2 separate regions of the Homo sapiens genome follow, and region 1 is linked to region 2. The links are contacts of gene promoters, found by promoter capture Hi-C in blood cells and fetal thymus (Javierre and others, 2016). All regions are on one chromosome and are shown on one strand. The core of a region is centred on a gene start or on the middle of the fragment in contact, and the rest is flanking DNA. Distances in the headings are between cores, read along the strand shown. Region 1 has its middle 300 kb from the start of CSNK2A2IP. Region 2 holds the start of EPHA3 (EPH receptor A3).

Region 1 (5,588 bases), core at 1,056-3,555, 470 kb after region 2:
GATCGAAATGGATGAAATGTACTCAGAGCAGAGCAGCAGTTCTGCCTATCCTTAGAGAACATAGCATTATTATACTATTATCTGAAAAGGGTTTAATTATATTCACATTATATCCATCTGCCTTAAAACCCTTATCATACCAGAACATGCTGAGAAATCTACTTTCCAAACACTTAACCTGCAAAATCCCTTGTGTAAATCTGCAAGTTTCAATGGCTTTATGGAATCCAAAAATGTCTCTAGAGGCTTTCCTTTGATTTTTCTCTATCCTGCCTACATTGAGTAAACAGAAAGCCCATTGACTCTCAGTTATCTGGAAACCCATTTTCCACTTTATGATTTTTTTTTTTTTTTTTTTTGCAGAAAGGCTTTTTAATTCCTTATGTTCCTATGTGTGCATCTGGGATATTGGTCTCACTTAGATATGTTAACATTGGTACTACTATCTAAACATTGTTTTTGAAGGGCAACCAGCTGCATTTCAAATCATGATAACAAGTCAAAAACACAAAACATCCTAAAATAAAATAGCATTTTAAGAGTGTATTATTAATAACAGTAGAATTTATTTAACTAAAGTAAAATGGTACAAAACTTTTTTTAAAAAAGAGGGTGAACTCTGCTGCTATTTGTATAACATGCACGACTAGTTTTTTCAACTTCAAGAATGCATTAGGAACAGAATGGAAAGTGCACTTCACATTAAAAAGTCCCTTAAAAAATGTCCAAACATACTAATTAATAAACCTGAATTCTTTAAAAAAAAAAAAAAAGCTTTCTCCCAGTATCAGGAAATCTTTTCTTCTATATAACATGCTTTTTCATATATAAAATCTATTTTGAGATTTAAAAAAATACTTTAAACACTTCAAAATATTTATTTAGACATAAATGTGTATAAGTCTGTAGCAAGACTCACTTTTCCAAATAGAGAAATATGTGCAATCAATTCTGTTTTCAATACTCAACAGTTTTTTTTAATTTCATCTTCTCTTTGTCTTTTAATTTAGTTTATACACTATATAACACTTGGCTTTAAAAAGTAGGCTATCAAGTTTCAAGTGGTAAGAAGTGTTAAAAGAATCAGCCTATGCTTATTTTTGTCTAGGTTTTATTCTATATCCTTATGGTTTCCTGTTTCTTGTCATGTCACATGAGGTGGTTAAAATTTTATTTTTATGTTAAAATAGTTTGCTAGATATCTTTTGTTTGTTCCTTCAAATCCATTCCCCATTATTCCCCATTCTGTTCTTTGTCCCGGTAGGCTGACTTTGTTGAAATACATCAATAGTCTCCCTTAAACTCTGCTGGTTTCCCATTGATTTAAACCAAGGGGAGATTCTGCAGGTGATCAGAGGGTGAGAGGATGAGATCATGGAGTTTATTCCTGCAGTTCCATCTCTGTGGGATCACCTTGTACTGTTTCAGTCCTTCAACTGATGGTCAATGCTTCCCTCAAGGAAGCCTCCTCTATACTGTCCTCTCATTCTAGGTTTCTGTAGCTGGCACTTCCCCATACAAATTCTTCCCTGGCTTCGAAGTGGTAACAGATATGCTGATAATAGCCTTCTGGGTATGGCATTATCCTTTGTGATTTCTCTGCACCCTCCCCATATTGTTGTAAATACCCTCTTTCTAACACCACCTTAAAAATAGGATACCATTTTGTGACATCTATTTTCTGGCTTTATACAACTTGGTTGTATAAAGTTGGCTTTATACAACTTGGTTTTTATTAACATCTTGGCTTTCTTGATTATCGATTCTCTACCCCACTTCAGATACAGTTCTTCCTATTAAAGGAAACTTGTGTGTGTGCCTCCCAGTAGGCATAACTTTTATCCTTTCCACCAATTTTCTATTTTTCTATATAAAAAATTGTATACATCAGTAAAATAAATTGAACTTCAAGTATTGTTTTGAAATGTATAAAGAAAAGGGCCATGAATAAAACCTTCATCAAGTGAGCAATTTGCAGTTGAACAGCAATTCCAATTACCGGTACCCAAGTTCCCAGGCTTCTTTGTGGTGGTATTTGTAGCTGATTAAATTTCTCCTAATTTTATGTATGGGTACACAACATGAAAATTAAAACAAAATATATTACCACTTTCAGAAATGAAAATGTATTCCTGAAACAGCATTTTGAATGTGGCCTTCTGCTCCAAACAAGTGAAATCACAGTTAGCATTTTGTGTTTTGAATGAATGAATTCTTACTGGGTTTATACAAAACAGTAAGTGGAAAATTAATTATTATATAGATGGATAATCCCGTTTAACTATTTATAAAATAGCAGAGTAAAATTTCTGAATTTTATAACATAACCCACCTCTCTTACTTTTCTTCATTTGGAAAAAAAAAAATTTTAAGAGGTTTTTTCTGTAGTAAGAATGTTAAACATGTTGAAAATGCTTCTGAAACAAAACAAATCAAAAAACCATTTTAGGAATAAACTATGTAATAATCTAGTCAAATGCAAATAAAGAAAATGTAAATAATTCCTATATTTTCCATCAAAGCTATAGGCCTTGCCCAGGTCTGTCAGATCAGCCTTGTGGGTGGTTAGATAGCTACACATTTCAAACATTATCTTGCCACACAACTAAACCCAGATCACTGAGAAGGGAAGAGGGATAATTCTAAATAAAAAAAAATGGTCTAACATGTGAAGAAAACATTTCATTCTTTAGAATTTGCTAAATCATTATAAAAAGCATTCAATAATAATTATAGCTAGGATTTGTTGAGCACTTCGTATATTGCTTTATTTAAACTTCTCAACAACCTCTAAAAGGGACATATTTTTATTATCCCACTTTATTGATCAAGATCTATTCAGAACACAAAAACATATTAGTAATTTAAAGGCAGAAAACTAGATAGGAAGAATTATTAATTAGAAAAACATAGTTAATTACTACAAGAGGTAAGAGAAAGTTCTAAAAAGAACTTTTGCTACACAAGTAGCAAAGTCGTCAAGTAGCTATGATCCATAGGGCTTTGAAAGAGCACACATGGAAAGGGCTACCTGAAGGATAAGATTCAGACCTCTTTGAAGAGGATGTGGCTGCAGACCCTTGGATAGCAGAGAAGTTCCCTGCAGTGCCTGGCATCAAAGCTGGCCAGCAGCAGGCAGGACAGGGCTAGTAATCAGAAAGCTGAGCTAAATTTGTCTGGGGAGTAGGGCCACTAAAGCTACACCCTGTGGTGCTGGCAAACTCATAGGAGGGGGAATGTCACTGGGTCTCCCGCATAAGATAATCAGCTGTGACATAGAGGTAAGAAGAAAAGTACACCAGAACCAGGAGCAAAAGCCTTCCTTCTGCTTATGTCTTCTGGTGTCCCTTCACTGCCTTCTCCTGGCGAAGTCCAACATTGTTCCAATGGCAAAAGAAAAATGTTCACAGGGTCCAGATCCAGAATCAGGAAGCTGAGCATGAGGGGTGGATTTAGAATTAAGAGTAAATAAACTGATAACTGTACCACCCTCTTTAAGGATGAGAAAACTGAAACTTATTGAACCTCCATAACTAGTACATGCAAAGGCAAGAGTCAAACCCATTCCGAATTAAACTCTCTTCTTAATCCCTACTCACTGTATTGCTTTAGTAACAAGCTACCCAGCCACAGGAATTCTACTCTATAATAAAATTGTAAATATTTCCAGTTTCTATAACGTTGTAACAATTGTTCAATTCTAATTGCAACTATATTTCCTAAGTTGTACATGATTTCAACCATGAAGTAGGTGGCACTGGAATTCAAATGTACAAGCATATGAAAGCAAAAGTAACCACAGACAACAAAGGAAGTACCTATTAAAGGAAAGCTTTTGGCTGTGTTAGGATCATTAGAAAGTGTCACTCTTCATCTCCAGGCACTGGAGTGAATCACTTGAATAGGGCCTGAAGTGAACCCCCTGCAAACTCCAGCAGCCCTACAAAAGAGGGACCTCACTATTGAAATAAAAACAAACAAGCAGAAAGTGACAACAAAGCATCAACAACAACAACAACAAAAAGGCCTCCACAAAAACCCCATCCCAGGGTGAGAGGCACAAAGACTGAAACTAGACAAACTCACGAAGATGAGAAAGAATCAACAAAAAGAATGCTGAAAACCCAAAAGACCAGAGTGTCTCTTCTCCTCCAAATGATCACAACATCTCTCCATCAAGGACGTAGAACTGGACGGAGGATCAGATGGATGAATTGACAAAAATAAGCTTCAGAAGCTGGGTAATTAAAAACTATAATGAGCTAAAGAAGTATGTTCTAGCCCAATGCAAAGAAGCTAAGAATGTTGATTAAAGGTTCAAGGAATGGCTATCTAGAATAACCAGTTTAGAAAGGAACATAAATGACCTGATGGAGCTGAAAAACACAGCACAAGAACTTTGTGAAGCATACACAAGTATTAACAGCTGAATCGACCACGTGGAAGACTACCTTACTGAAATAAGACATGCAGAAAAGAATAGAGAAAAAATAATAACAAGGAATGAACAAAACCTCCAAGAAGTATGGGGCTTCATAAGAAGCCCAAACCTACAATTGATTGGAGTACCAGAAGGAGACAGGGAGAATGAAAACAAGCTGGAATACACACTTCAGGATATGATGCAGGAGAACTTCCCCAATGAGCAAGACAGGCCAACATTCAAATTCAGGAAATACAGAGAACCATTAAGACACTCCATGAGAAGATCAACCCTGAGACACATAATCATCAGATTCTCCAAGGTCGAAATAAAGGAAAAACTGTTAAGGGCAGCCAGAGAGAAAGATCAGGTCACCTTCAAAGAGAAGCTCAGCAGAATAACAGTAAACCTCTCAGCAGAAATTCTACAAGCCAGAATAGACTGGGGGCCAATATTCAACATTCTTTGAAAAAAGAATTTTCAACACAGAATTACATATCCAGCCAAACTAAGCTTCATAAGCAAAGGAGAAATAAAACCCTTTCCAGACAAGCAAATGCTGAGGGATTTCATTACCACCAGGCCTGTCCTGCAAGAGATCCTGAAAGAAGCAGTAAATATGGAGCGGAAATACTGGTACAGGCCACTGCAAAAACACACCTAAATGTAAAGTCCAATGACACTATAAAGAAACTGCATCAACTATTGTGCAAAATAACCAGCTAGCATAATGATGATAGGATCAAATAACCAGCTAGCATCATGATGACAGGATAAAATTCACACATAACAATACTAACCTTAAATGTAAATGTGCTAAATGCCCCACCTAAAAGACACAAACTGGCAAATTGGATAAGGAGTCAAGACCCATCGGTGTGCTGTATTCAGGAGATCCATCTTACATGCAAAGACACACAAAGGCTCAAAGTAAAGGTATGGAGGAAAATTTACCAAGCAAATGGAAAGCAAAGAAAAGCAGGGGTTGCAATCCTAGTCTCTGACAAAACAGACTTTAAACCAACAGAGATCAAAAAAGACAAAGAAAGGCATTACATAATGGCAAATGGAACAATTCAACAAGAAGAGCTAACTATTCTAAATATATATGCACGCAATACAGGAGGACCCAGATTTATAAAACAAGTTCTTAGAGACCTACAAA
Region 2 (4,970 bases), core at 2,315-4,814:
TTTTAAGTTTTAAACAATTGCATAGTTTCCTCTAGTATTTAGAATATTTATATTTAGGGAAATGCATTTCATAGAAATAGTGTCTTAGCTACTAAAAAAAGTCTTTAAAAAAGTAGTATATAAATATGAATATTTAATTTTATTCAGTTTTATTTTGGATACTCTATTTTCAATATAAAGAGCTTTCTAGGTAAATGTTAATCCAATTTATGAACTCTTTTGGATAGAAAAAATGATTTAGTGTATTATGTGCTGATGAATTAATAGTGCATTGTACCCCAGACTGCCATAAATGTATAAAAGTGTTTAAAGAAAGTATTTTTACCAATTCTGAAAGGGTTGAAGTAACCACAGTTGATAATTTTATTTTATATCCAGTTTTAACTTTGTTCCAATGTTATTTCTGTTTACCATTAATCATCCCTGTGGTATGGAAACTAGGAGTAAGTATATGAACTTTTAAAATAATACGTAGTGTAGCAATCATATTTTGCCATGAAAAACAGCTGATCTCCCATTAAAAGTCTTTTCTTAAGCCATGTAAACAGAGAGACCTGATAAGAATTTAATAAAGTTTTTATAAAGTTCTGTTTAAGTATATAGGCCAATTGCTGAGTCAAGTGATCATTGGAATTATGAATATCTGTTATCGTTGATGAGTCCCTATTATCACCTGGAGTCATTTTCTTGAAAGCATATAAGAGAGATATTTGTAAATACATTAATAGAAGGAAAATTCAGATTAAACATTTTCTAAGTTATTTTTCTTATCAGGGACCCATGGCATTTCAATATTGATGTTTAATGATTAAATCTTAAATTAAAAAACACATCACACAACTGCAAATGTCCTAGCAATTAAGTCAATGGCCTGGTTTTGTTCTCTTTGGTTCTCAAATGCCTAACTTCATAACAGATTGAAGAATATATTCTAGTAAATATGTTTCAGTAAATTTCTCATAAATTTTTTACAGTGTTGAAATATTTCAATCATAATATTTTAAATACAGTCTAGTATTTCATATTTCAAAATTAAAAAATTATATCAGAAAACTACATTAATACCATTTTTAAATCACCACTCCTCTCATATATACATTTTCAAAAGAATTGCTTTCTATTTAAATTACATTGTTAGAAAAATTGCACGGAAATCTTGGCACATACTTGGCATTTTCACTTTTCATGTTATTCAACTCAACTGAGAGCCCAGCTATGGATAATATTTAAAATCTCACTCAAGTATTACCTAAGTTAAATCATCTTAAATTTGTTTTAAAGCTTCCCTTCACAATCACAGGAAGGAAAAGAGACACTACCCATAGGACACAATCTGGAAGGAATAATCCCATGAATGATGGATAAACTTTCATCCAAGCAAATTAAATGCAATTATGTCAGCTTTCTGAATATATTTACCTTTCTATATCCATATGGTTAATGTGTACCTGTCTGTATAATTATATACATTATATCCCCAAACATACATGAGGTGAGGCTTAAAAGCAATTTGTATTTGATTAACTCTGTTTCATTAAATTAATACTGATTAATTTTACATAGGTGTGAAATAGTTTGGTGTCTTTTTTTTTCTCTTGCAGTTTACTTAAAGGTTGTTTTCCACAAAAATACTGACTAACAGCTACATTCTTGTGCATAATTAATTCAGTAATATCCATATCTACATAGTTCATAACCATTCTATCTGGAAAATATAATTTATCATGACAATGTGGGAATTTTAATACTATTTTTCTAGTTATTGTCAATATTTTAATATCTGCAAAGAACAAAAATTTTTAAAACATTAAGTTTAATTTATTGATATGTTACCTATTATACATGTTACCCGTTATACAAATGAATACTCTTACCTTTCATTCAGGAAGAATGATTGACTCTTACTTTCAAATAAACATTTTAATTTGGTTTGTAAAATAAAAAGTCATTTGTGGGTAAGATAATTTTCTTGATCCTTATATTTTAGAATTTTCATTTTCTTATTTAGAAAAAAGATTCAGAACATTTAATGAAAACTGCCAAATTGATAAAGGCAGTCAGTAAGGAAGGAGATAAATTACTGCTCTATTAGCAGTGAAAGTAGGTCACCGAGTATCAGGCAGTTATTACATTTAATAAAAAACTTTCTAAGTATTTTGTTTTTACTCGTGTTTTTAAAATTAAGGTACATATACAACAGTATTGGCTTGACAATATATTTTCTAAGGAGTGATGTATATAACATGATGTTTGCACATCAGTTGCTCGGTATTGTTAACTTGCAAAATAAATTGCTAAATGTTACTGTTATAAGTTCAAAATCACTAAGAGGAAATTAATGTTGTAAGTGTGGCTTTACACTAATCAATTATTTAGAGAAGTTTGTTTTACGAGTTAGTGACTGTATTCACAAGAATAGATCACAAAAGGAATACAGGAGAAAGAAAATGTATGTATTAAGTACACAATCTTATAGAACACATTGGTGTCCTTAACATTAGGTTTGCACTTTAACCCACTGAAAAGGAATTAATGCTCATTACAAGGATAATAAATAACACAACATCAAGGAAATGCCATTTGCTGCATATGAACATTCTCTCTTAATCTACTATTCAGTTATTTACTATATCTTCCCAGGAGCTATCCACTATTCATTAAATACATTCTCCTATTTGTATATAAGCCTTTAAACAAAGAGAATCCAACCTAAGCTTATTGTAATTCTTGCAAATATTACTTACGTTAATGTGGCATATGCTGCTCTTTAGAACCTGTACCATAGAGCAAACCATTGCCTGGCGGGATACACACAACTTCAACACAGCCCTTGCACCATAAACACGCACCTCCGCTTCGACAAACTCTGATTTCCCTTTAGTCCATTCATAAATGCCATGATCCCAAGTAGGAACAACCTGTCATTACCTTTAAACATACTAAAGAGTCTAGAGAGGAAGGCTGAATTTTCTTTCAAACTTCTCGGAGTACCACATGGTCATAATTAGAAAATAAAATACTGCCTTGGCTATTTGGCAATTAACATAACTGGGTTGCAACGCTGGAGGATTTTCTTTCTTTCTTTCTGCTCAAATTGGCAAACAAGGTAATTGCTCGAAATGGTGTCAGATTAAAAACACATTTTCAAAGTTTAGACCATCTAAAATTATCTCCTGAAGTGTTTTAGAAGACAGTTGGAAAAAAAAAAGGCACATCTTTCCTTCACTCTCAGAGCAAACTGCTCTATTCGGAGGCACCTTCCCGACGTGCAAGGCTTCGGTGAGAACGTGCTTTGAAGAGCGTGAGCCCCGCGGGGCAGAGCTCCGTGCGTCGCGGTACCTGGCTTACCTTCATTGGAAGGCTGCGGAATCAGTTCCCCGAAGCTGTCGAGAACAGAGCAGCTGAGAAGGAGGAGGATGGAGAGCTGACAATCCATGTTGCTGGTGCAGAGGGCAGTGAGAGGAGCATATCTCCATGAAGCATGCCACTGATGTGAGGGGGAGCGCTCTGATTGCTGGAGAAGTTACCATGCTCCGCTCGCAGGCTGATGTCAAGTTTGACACTGGAGATAAGGAGGAGTCTGGCTGCCTTTCCGCGAACCCCGCTCGGGGACTTCCCTGGGTCCTAGTGCCGTCTTCAGCGTGCGCTGAAGCAGAGCGGGATGGCACGCAGCTGGCTCTGCAGCCCAGAGCTGCTCGGGAAGGAGACCGGGTGGGAGTGGGGGCGTCGCCCATGGGACAGGAAACACAGAAGATGTGATGAGGCCGCGGTGCTGAGAAAAATGCTCCCTCTTTTGTGTTGCATGAAAAGTAGCTGTTTTATTGTTTGCTATCCATGCTCTGTTGCTTAATTCACCGAAGAAATCACAGCCTTGATAGGAGTATCATATGGCAATGTGAGTGCAAAAGGAACTGAAATGCGAGAGAAACGTGTGTTTTGAAAGAATAGCAGTCTTTCGTTAAAAAGTCAATCATGTTTGTATAATTGAAAAAAATGATTATAGTTATTCCTTTACTGTGTTCAATGTGATCATAACTCTCCATGAGTTCTTTGTGATTCAGAAAGACACTAATACACAGCCTGAATCAGAGGGTCTCTGCATTTCCACACCCAATGGTATCGTGGCTTTTTACTAGATCTGGCACAGTGATTTTCCGCGCACATAGAGCATACTTTGTTTTTTTTCAAACAGGGAAGTTGACCTTCATCATCTTACGGAAGGGAGCAAGTCTAACCCCAGCCGGAGGTCTACATTCTTTTCTCGTTCTGTGTTGTAAAAGTAATACAGATCAAACCTAAATTTCTTAATAATACATATCCCCCTCCCTCACCATCTCACATTAGGATCTCTGGGTTCTGCAAGAGAAACAATGCATAATTCACAGCTCCTCCATTCAACTTTCAACCACTGATAGTCTAATAATATTGGGGTATTCTTATTCTTTAACATTCCAAATCCAAAAGCTAAATAATAATGTCCTCGTACTTTCTCACTTATTTTACACCATGACTATCAATGGTCTCTGTTATTTCCAATCCCATTGCTGAACAACCTATTGCAATCTAGTTCAGCCAAACAATTTTGTAATTTATATTTTAATAACCAGCATCACTTATCTTTAAAATATCTCCCAGAAAATGGTTACTCAGATATCCTTCCGCCCATCTATCTCTTCTTATACTAAAAAGAAAACAAGATTATTATATTCCTCTCACAACTTCAGAAAATAAAGGTATGTTGATAATCTTAAGATCAGTGATCAATTTTAGAGCTCTTGATAATGAAACTTAAATGAAAGTTTGAAAAGCCCTTGCTAATAATGTATTCAGTCCACAAACTCAATGTTTTTAGTTAGAGAACACAATTTTCACTTGAATTTAAGTTAATGGTGCCAGATAATAGTTTGATGACTGGGGTGGGGAATTGGGGTGGATAGAAGCAGCCAGGGGAAAAGAGAGATCCTTCTCAC

The links. Contacts are between HindIII fragments. The CHiCAGO score rates a contact against its expected background, and 5 or more counts as called.
Region 1: a fragment that was not itself captured here is called in contact with the fragment with the promoter of EPHA3 in region 2 in 1 of 17 cell types (megakaryocytes); the score reaches 6.9 in megakaryocytes.

What each region holds. Positions count from the first base shown.
Region 1 is chr3:88,639,001-88,644,588 of GRCh38, reverse strand. No RefSeq gene overlaps it. Among named protein-coding and RNA genes, the nearest start is that of CSNK2A2IP, 300 kb to the right of the region's middle. The HindIII fragment of the contact is 3,058 bases long and covers 777-3,834 here.
Region 2 is chr3:89,106,215-89,111,184 of GRCh38, reverse strand. EPHA3 (EPH receptor A3) reads right to left here and starts at 3,564. Exons shown (of 17, transcript NM_005233.6): 1 at 3,349-3,564. The coding sequence starts at 3,436. RefSeq lists an enhancer at 3,583-3,722. The HindIII fragment of the contact is 3,372 bases long and covers 2,717-4,970 here.